3 separate regions of the Homo sapiens genome follow, and regions 2 and 3 are each linked to region 1. Evidence: promoter capture Hi-C in 16 types of primary human blood cells and fetal thymus (Javierre and others, 2016). All regions are on one chromosome and are shown on one strand. The core of a region is centred on a gene start or on the middle of the fragment in contact, and the rest is flanking DNA. Distances in the headings are between cores, read along the strand shown. Region 1 holds the start of IRGC (immunity related GTPase cinema). Region 2 overlaps XRCC1 (X-ray repair cross complementing 1). Region 3 overlaps XRCC1 (X-ray repair cross complementing 1).

Evidence for each region. The method cuts DNA at HindIII sites, captures the fragments that hold promoters and counts their contacts. A CHiCAGO score of 5 or more calls a contact.
Region 2: a contact is called between a fragment that was not itself captured here and the fragment with the promoter of IRGC in region 1, in 3 of 17 cell types (neutrophils, monocytes and activated CD4 T cells). The highest score is 7.0, in neutrophils.
Region 3: a contact is called between a fragment that was not itself captured here and the fragment with the promoter of IRGC in region 1, in 1 of 17 cell types (neutrophils). The highest score is 5.1, in neutrophils.

Annotation. Positions count from the first base shown.
Region 1 is chr19:43,714,757-43,717,476 of GRCh38, reverse strand. It overlaps IRGC (immunity related GTPase cinema), which reads right to left and starts at 1,401. Exons shown (of 2, transcript NM_019612.4): 1 at 1,335-1,401. RefSeq lists an enhancer at 928-1,428. The HindIII fragment of the contact is 15,065 bases long and covers 1-2,720 here.
Region 2 is chr19:43,541,585-43,544,304 of GRCh38, reverse strand. XRCC1 (X-ray repair cross complementing 1) reads left to right here. Exons shown (of 17, transcript NM_006297.3): 15 at 71-161; 16 at 618-693; 17 at 800-994. The coding sequence ends at 913. Among named protein-coding and RNA genes, the nearest start is that of ZNF575, 9.8 kb to the right of the region's middle. The HindIII fragment of the contact is 7,833 bases long and covers 1-2,720 here.
Region 3 is chr19:43,570,748-43,573,467 of GRCh38, reverse strand. All of the region lies in intron 2 of XRCC1 (X-ray repair cross complementing 1), which reads left to right. Among named protein-coding and RNA genes, the nearest start is that of XRCC1, 3.4 kb to the left of the region's middle. The HindIII fragment of the contact is 6,228 bases long and covers 1-2,720 here.

The DNA of each region.
Region 1 (2,720 bases), core at 152-2,651:
ATCCTGGCAAACCACCTCCTAGGATCTCTGTGACTTGAATGAGTTATGACATAAAGCAGCCCATAAAACGGCGCCTGGCTCAGGGCAGGTGCCTCGTGTCATTGGCATCACCATCATCGTCATTATTCTTATCATTAGTAATATTCTTAGCTGTGTGACTTTGAGCAAGTCCTCGCCCTGTCTGAGCCTCAGCTGCCCCGTGGGGGATACTCCTCCCCACCTCGCAGGGCTGCTGTGATGCCCACAAACCCCGTTCAGCTAGCCCTAGGCTGACTTTGGGTTCAGACGCCCTTGGGTTCGGGAAGCCAGACATGGGGACCACCTGGACACCAGGAGTCATTTCCATGAAACCCCACCCCTGCCATGGCAGCCCTTGCCTCCCGGGGTTCAGTTCCCCTCCCACCGCCCAGAGCTCCTGTCGTGATGGTCCCCCCTCAGATCCCTCCTCCTCACCAGGAGCTTCCCTGGTCCTCCCTCTTCCCACTCACCCTCCTCTGGCCCATCATCTCTAAAATACATTTACTCACTAAGGGTCTTCAGGGTGCCCTGGGAGAGCTGCTCATGTCTGGGATCACTGTCCCCATTTGACAGGGAGAAGGACTGAGGCTCAGACAAGACAAATGAGGTCTCCTCATCCAGAGGCATAGCCAGGACCCCAACCCAGGTCCCCAGGCTCCTTCACCCACCTAGAGAGCTACTCTCCCTTCAGCTGCATGTCCCTGCCTCCTGCATTGTCTCCTTGCCCCCTGCACCCCGTCTCTTCACCTCCTACCACTCACCCCATCCTCTGCTACCCCACTCCACCCCCCACAGAAATATGTCCTTAAGACATTGTTCCCGGCTGGGCATGGTGGCTCACGCCTGTAATCCTAGCACTTTGGGAGGCCGAGGTGGGTGGATCACTTGAGGTCAGGAGTTCGAGACCAGCCTGGCCAACATGGTGAAACTCCATCTCCACTAAAAATACAAAAATTAGCCAGGTGTTGTGGCGCATGCCTGTAGTCCCAGCTCTTGAACCCAGGAGGCGGAGGTTGCAGTGAGCCAAGATTGCACCACTGCACTCCAGCCTGGGCGACAGAGCGAGACTCCGTCTCAGAAAAAAAAAAAGGAAAAAAAAAAGACATTGTTGCCTCCAGATCTGAGCCTCCTATCCTGGGTGTGCCCTCTCCCTAGTATGGTCTGCGGTGGGAAGAGTAGGAACCTGGAACAGGTCCTGGCAGCAAGGGGCAGACAAGTCAGTGGTTGGAATTTGGGCTGAGGGGGTCCGGATTAGACCATAAGCTCCTGCTCCGCCCACGCACAGGGGCCCAGCGAGAGAGCCCTGGGGGACTCACCTGCCCTGCAGGCTCTCCCTCTCCCCTCACACTCTCCCCACTGATAGGATCTCCTTCCCTCTTAGCCAAGGTCAGACACCGTTGCTAGGACCCATTATCATAGCAAGCAGCAGCTTATTGGTCAGCCAGACCTGGTGCAATAATGCGACAGTGATGTCAGGGGGTGGGGCCCGGAGGTGGAGCAGGGACCCCAAGCCCCAGCTGCTCATGGGGTCACCACCCACTCACACTGGGCCCTCCAGTTCCCCTGAAGACTCCAGAGAGATCTTTCTAACACCAAGACCTGTTCAAAATCCTCCATGGTCTCCATCACCCCCCAAGGACAAAGTCTCAGATTCACAGATTGGTTTCCAAGGGCTTGGCCCTGCTACCACTCCACCCTCCACCCAGGGGACTGTCAGTTCCCCAGAGAAGTGTGAAAGTTGATGATACAAATTCGGTCATTGCTGGTGGGCACAGTGGCTCACGCCTGTAATGCCAGCACTTTGGGAGGCCGAGGCGAGTGCATCACTTGAGGCCAGGAGTTTGAGATCAGCCTGGGCAATGTGGTGAAACTCCATCTCTACTAAAAATACAAAAATTAGCCAGATGTGGTGCATGCATGTAGTCCCAGCTACTCGGGAGGCTGATCTGCTATCTTGTAAGCCCAATAATTTAGTCATTGATTTCTTTTTTTTCTTTTTTTGAAACAGTGTCTTGCTCTGTCACCCAGGCTGGAGTGCAGTGACACAATCTTGGCTCACTGCAACCTCCGCCTCCTGGGTTCAAGTGATTCTCCTGCTTCAGCCTCCTGAGTAGCTGGGACTACTAGCATGCACCACCAGGCTTGGCTAATTTTTTTTTTTTTTTTTTTTTTTTAGTAGAGGTGGGGTTTCACCATGTTGCCTAGGCTGGTCTTGAACTCCTGACCTCAGGTTATCCGCCTGCCTCGCCTCCCAAACCTCCTGACCTCAGGTTATGCCGCCTCCCAAAGCGCTAAGATTACAGGTGTAGCCACTACACCCGGCCCCTTCTTGTCCTTTATAAGTGTCTCTGTCCTGTCTCCCCTCCGGGCTTCCTCTCTGCCCAGGCCAGGCTCCACAGGGCCTTCTCCATTCTCCTCTTGTAGGGAATTTACAATAACGCTACTCAGAGGATTTTCCTGACCATCTGCAGGCCAGTTCTGGAAAGGAGCCTCTGAGAACAACTAAGGAGAGAGAGGCCCAGAAGGGGAATAGACTAGCTCAGAGCCACCCTGAGAGCTGGGGAAGAGTGGGCTGTTGGCCGCATAGTACAGAGTTCTTAAGCCACAGGTGAAAGGGAGGTGCAGGGCAAAAGACACACGACTCACTCATGCTCTCACTGACTGACACAAACACACAGAGCTGAAGAGAGTGAACAACATGG
Region 2 (2,720 bases), core at 79-2,578, 170 kb after region 1:
CGTCACTCCTGTTTGGTGCCTGGGAACTCCTGGGGCCTCATGCTTACCTTAGCCCCCTTCTCTCCTGCAGATTTCTTCCAGGGCAAGCACTTCTTTCTTTACGGGGAGTTCCCTGGGGACGAGCGGCGGAAACTCATCCGATACGTCACAGCCTTCAATGGGTGAGTCTCCAGGGACTGGGGTGGGGAAGGGGTGATGGATCCAAGGGAACGCTCAGGGACCTGCTGGGAGGGGTGGGGGTGTGGGAAAGAAGACCATCAGGAGGATGGAGAAGGGCCATGCCCAGCAGGTGGGCACAGGTCATGGAATCCGAATGCTAGCTTGCCCACCACCGGCAGCCCAGGGTGCATTGCTTGCCTCAGTTTCCTCTTCTGTATGGCGAGGATCCCTACCCCTACCCCTGCTTCTGAAAGGGACAGCCTGAGGATTAGCCACTGTGGGAGCTCTGGTCATTGTGGCTGTGGCAAGATGGATACATGAAAGAATGGAGCCTAGAGGCAACCTAGAGGCGCATAGGTGGGGACAGTGTGGGGACAGCCATTGAGAGTGGCTGGGGAGTAGGACGTCAGTGCTGATTCCCTGATGTGCCTTCTACCTCTTTTCTTCTCTCCCGCCAGGGAGCTCGAGGACTATATGAGTGACCGGGTTCAGTTTGTGATCACAGCACAGGAATGGGATCCCAGCTTTGAGGAGGTGAGTACCAAAGAGGCAGAGAATGGGAGACCCGGGCACACCTTTGCATCTCCTCCGTCCTCCCCTCGATGACACATTCCCGTATGGACTCCACCCCACCCTGCAGGCCCTGATGGACAACCCCTCCCTGGCATTCGTTCGTCCCCGATGGATCTACAGTTGCAATGAGAAGCAGAAGTTACTTCCTCACCAGCTCTATGGGGTGGTGCCGCAAGCCTGAAGTATGTGCTATACACACACACACACACACACACACACACACACACACACGATGCATTTAATAAAGATGAGTTGGTTCTCATCCAAGAGTCTCCCAAAACTCTAAGAGGCTCCCTGGGACCTGGGGAAGAATGCTGGGCACCTCCGTCAGAGATCTGGTAGAGAAGGAACTCTTTGTCTCTTCTGCTTGGCCCCTTATCCCTGTGTTGGCAAGAGGCAGGGAACTGGGAATCTGACCCTCAGCACTGCCCCTCAACTTTTTCTGGCCCTCTGAGCCACACCTGTATCTTGGCTGTCCCTTTGTGGCTGGAGGCCTGGGTACCCATGAGGCTTGTCTCTCTCCTGAAGCCTCAGCGTCCCCAGGCCAGGGATAGTGCCTTTCCTCCAGGGTTTTCAGAAGTAGCTGTATAATGAATGTCACCACTGTGGTTTTACATCACCTAATTTAGGAGGTAGAATGGGAGGAAGGGACATTTTAAGCAACCTACCCAAACCCTGCACCCCCTTCAAGGCTCCACCACATTTAAGTGGGAATTGAGGTGATTGTGAGGGAATCAGGGCAGAGGATGGGATGGTGCTCTAGGCAGAGGCCATAGCATGGGCCAGGAGGTGGGAAGCAGCCTGAGGCAGGCAGAAGAGCATTGCTGCCTTTGGCAAAGAGGCTTTGGGGGCAGATTTAGAAAGCCAGGCACAGTCCTTGCAGCTCTGCTGTCCAGTGTGATCACCACTGGGTACAGGTGGCTATTTAAATTAATTAAAATGAAATGAAATGAAATGTAAACTTCACTTCCATAGTCACACTGGCCATGCATTTCAATTGCTCAGTGGCTATTGTATTAGGCAGTACAGAGAACATTTGCATCAGTCTAGAAAGGTCTTTTGGACAGGGCTGGCCTGAAGGTCTGCGAACTCCAGGCTGAGAAGCCTGGACTTTAATCTGAGGGTGGGAAGGTTGGGAGGGGGTTTGAGCAGGACAGAGGCCAGGGTCAGAGGTAGGTTTGAGATCTGACCTTTGGGTAACCTTTTATTGGACATTCCAAGCCCTTTCCCAACTTTTGCCTCATCAACCAAGGGCTACCAGTCTCACTCCTGTCTCTTTCTGGACCTTTGTTTTTGCATCTTTAAGATGAGGGTGGTTTATTATTATTATTATTATTATTATTATTATTATTATTATTAGAGACAGGGTCTTGCTCTGTTGCCCAGGCTGAAGTGCAGTGGTGCAATCATTGTTCACTCCAGCCTCGAACTCCTGGGCCCAAGCGATCCTCCTGCTTCAGCCTCCTGAGCAGCTGGGACTATAGGCATGTACCACCACACCTGATAAATTTTCTATTTTTTGTAGAGATGGGCTCTCACTATGTTGCCCAGGCTGGCCTCGAACTTCTGGCCTCAAGCAGTCTTCCCGCCTTGGCCTCCTAAAGTGCTGGGATTACAGGTGTTGAGCCACACTGCCCAGCTAAGGGTGGCTTTAGACTTCATGTTCACTCATTCGTTTGCTCATTCACACTCCCACCGATAACTCACCATGTTAGTTTTGTACTACTGCTATAACAAATTATCACAAGCTCAGTGGCTTAAAATAATAGAAATTTATGATCTTACAGGTTTGGAGGTCTGAAGTCCAAAATGGGTATCCTTGGGCTAAAAATCAAGGTAGGCAGGGCTGCGTTCCTTCTGGAGGCTTGAGGGGAGAATCTGTTTTCTTGTCTTTTCCAGCTTCTAGAAGCCACCCACATTCCATTCACCTTCTATATTCCAGGCCTGCAATGGCCTGTTGAGTCCTTCTCACATCCCATCACCCTGAC
Region 3 (2,720 bases), core at 132-2,631, 140 kb after region 1:
GAGGGGGAGTATATTTCCCTGCTCCATTGATGAGTTTGACCATATGATTTACTTAATGGAATTTCAGCACATCTAACTTCAGCAAGGGCCTTAAATGCACTTGGCTTTTGTGCTCCCATAATATGCCATGAGAACATTTGCCAGGTTACTGCTAATCCCAGAAAACTGTGGAATCTCATGGAAGAGACCTGAATCCTCCCAAACTGCAGCCAAAGCAGCCATCCCACAAATTCTTATAAGAATGCTTGTTGGTATAAGTCTCAGTTTTCATGTTGGGAGGTCGAGGTGGGTGAATCGCTTGAACCCAGGAGTTTGAGACCAGCCTGGGTAACATGGGGAAACCCTATCTCTACGAAAAATTATAAAAAATAGCTGGGCTTGGTGGCGTATGCCTGTAGTCCCAGCTACCAGGGAGGCTGAGCGGGGAGGATTGATTGAGCCCATAAGGTTGAAGCTGCAGTGAACTGTGATGGTTTCACTGCACTCCGGCCTGTGAGACAGAGTGAGACTGTATCTCAAAAAAAAAAAAAAAAAAAAAAAGAAAAGATCTCAGTTTTAGGATGATTTGTTACACAGCATTATTACAGTGTAAGTTAATACAACTTGGTTGTTTTAAACCACTGAGATTAGGGACTCCTTTGTTACTGTAACATCATCTGGTCCACCCCAATTGATGTCAGTGTTTAGTGCCTGTCAACTAATGGCCTCCACTTCCCAGGTTCAAATGATTCTCATGCCTCAGCCTTCTGAGTAGTTGGAATTTACATGCCTGGCTAATTTTTGTATTTATAATAGAGACCGAGTTTTGCCATGTTGGCTAGGCTGGTCTTGAACTCCTGACCTCAGGAGTTCAAGGCAAATGAGCACCAAATGCTAATTTAAGTGATCCACCCACCTTGGCCTCCCAAAATGTTGGGATTACAGGCATGAGCCACTGCACCTGACCTCAGTCTTTTAAACTGTGATAGATACAGATTGCTGACAGTTTTAGTCTTGAGATCTAGATTCAAGCCCCCAGCTCTTCCTCTTAATCGGTGACCTCAAGAAAATTGTTTCATTTCTCTAACCTGTTTTCTCATGTGTCCATTGGGAATAATGACATCCAAGCCCGGAGTTGTGAAAATTCGGTGACATAATGTCTGCACAAGTGCTCTGTCAACATGTAGGTGTTTGTGTAGAGGGAGGGATTTGTGTTTTTATTACTTAGTGGGTGATGATTCCACTGGGCTCTCTTATGATCAAGTGACTCCAGGGAAATCACATTTCATTCTGTTACCCCAGTTGCTGTGGAAACAGAGTGACTGGAGGCAGAAGAGACAGAACCTGTCTCTGGCCTGGGAGAGACTGAGGGAGTATTGCAGCGGTCACCAACATGGTAAACCCCAGAGGGAGCAGCTTGGGGAGGTGATGTGTTTCAGTTGGGATGTCCAGGTTTGATGTGACTTTGGGACATTCTAGGGGTGGCATCCAGGAGGCAGTTGGGGATCACATGTGGAGCTGAAGACAGAATGTGGGGAAGTTGTCAGTGCAGAGAAAGAACCTATAGACTCGGGAGTAGATGATGGATTTATTTGTTCATTCACTCATTTATTTAGTCAAGTATTTATTAAGTGCCTTCTGTAGGCCAAGCACTGTTTTAATACAGCAGTACACAGCAGAAGACAAAAAATATTCACTCTCAGTGGGGTGCAGTAAGCTCACGCCTATAATCCCAGCACTTTGGGAGGCCAAGGCCTGGCAGTTCGAGACCAGCTTGGGCAACACAGGGAAACTTCATCTCTACTAAAAATACAAAAATCTGCCAAGCGTGGTGGCCTATGCCTGTGGTCCCAGCTACTCCAGAGGCTGAGGCGGGAGGATCACTTGAGCCTGGAAGATCAAGGCTGTAGTGAGCTATGATCGCACCATTGCGCTCCAGCCTGGGCAACAGAATGAGATGCTGTCTCTTAAAAACAAAAGAAATTCAGTCTTGTGGAGCTTTCACGTTAGTAGGGAAAGACTGACAAATGAGTCAGTGAAACATATGTTGGATGATGAGTGCTATGGAGGAACTTAATGAAGGGGAATGAGAGTGCCCCAGCTGGAGCTGGAGCAGTGGCAAGGATTTTTATTTAAATAGTAGGGTCCGGGAAGGCCTCCCTGAAAAGGGGACATTTGAGCAACATGAGCTATGTATGTATCTAGGGAAAAGACTCTGAAGCTGGCTTGTGACAGCAAGGAGGCCAGTATGGCTGGGGTGGAGTCAGCCAGGGGGAGAGAGGTAGGAGATGAGGTAACAGGGTGGGACTGGGAACCCCTAAAAAACCACTTAAGGCCTGGAAAGCCATTGAAAGGACTTGAGCTTTTACTCCAGGTGTGAGATAGGAGCCACCGGAGGGCTCCGAGCAGAGGAGGGACAGGATCTGCCTTAGGCCTTCACAGGATCCTGCTGGCTCCATGTTGACAATCAACTGCAGGGGCCACACACAGGAGTGGGAGATCAGCATTGCAGCAGTTGTTTTGTTAACTTACTCCACGTCAGAGACCCTTTGGAATGACTGATTGCATCTGGCAATGACTAATTTGTGGGGTTACTCTGGATTCATCAAATGCTAATTTTGATTCTTTTGACGTAACTGATAAAGGCAGACATTTCTGGCCACCAAGGCAGTAGGCTTATCTCTGGGTTGTTATGTTATGTTTTGAGACAGGGTCTCACTCTCTTGCCCAGGTTGGAGTGC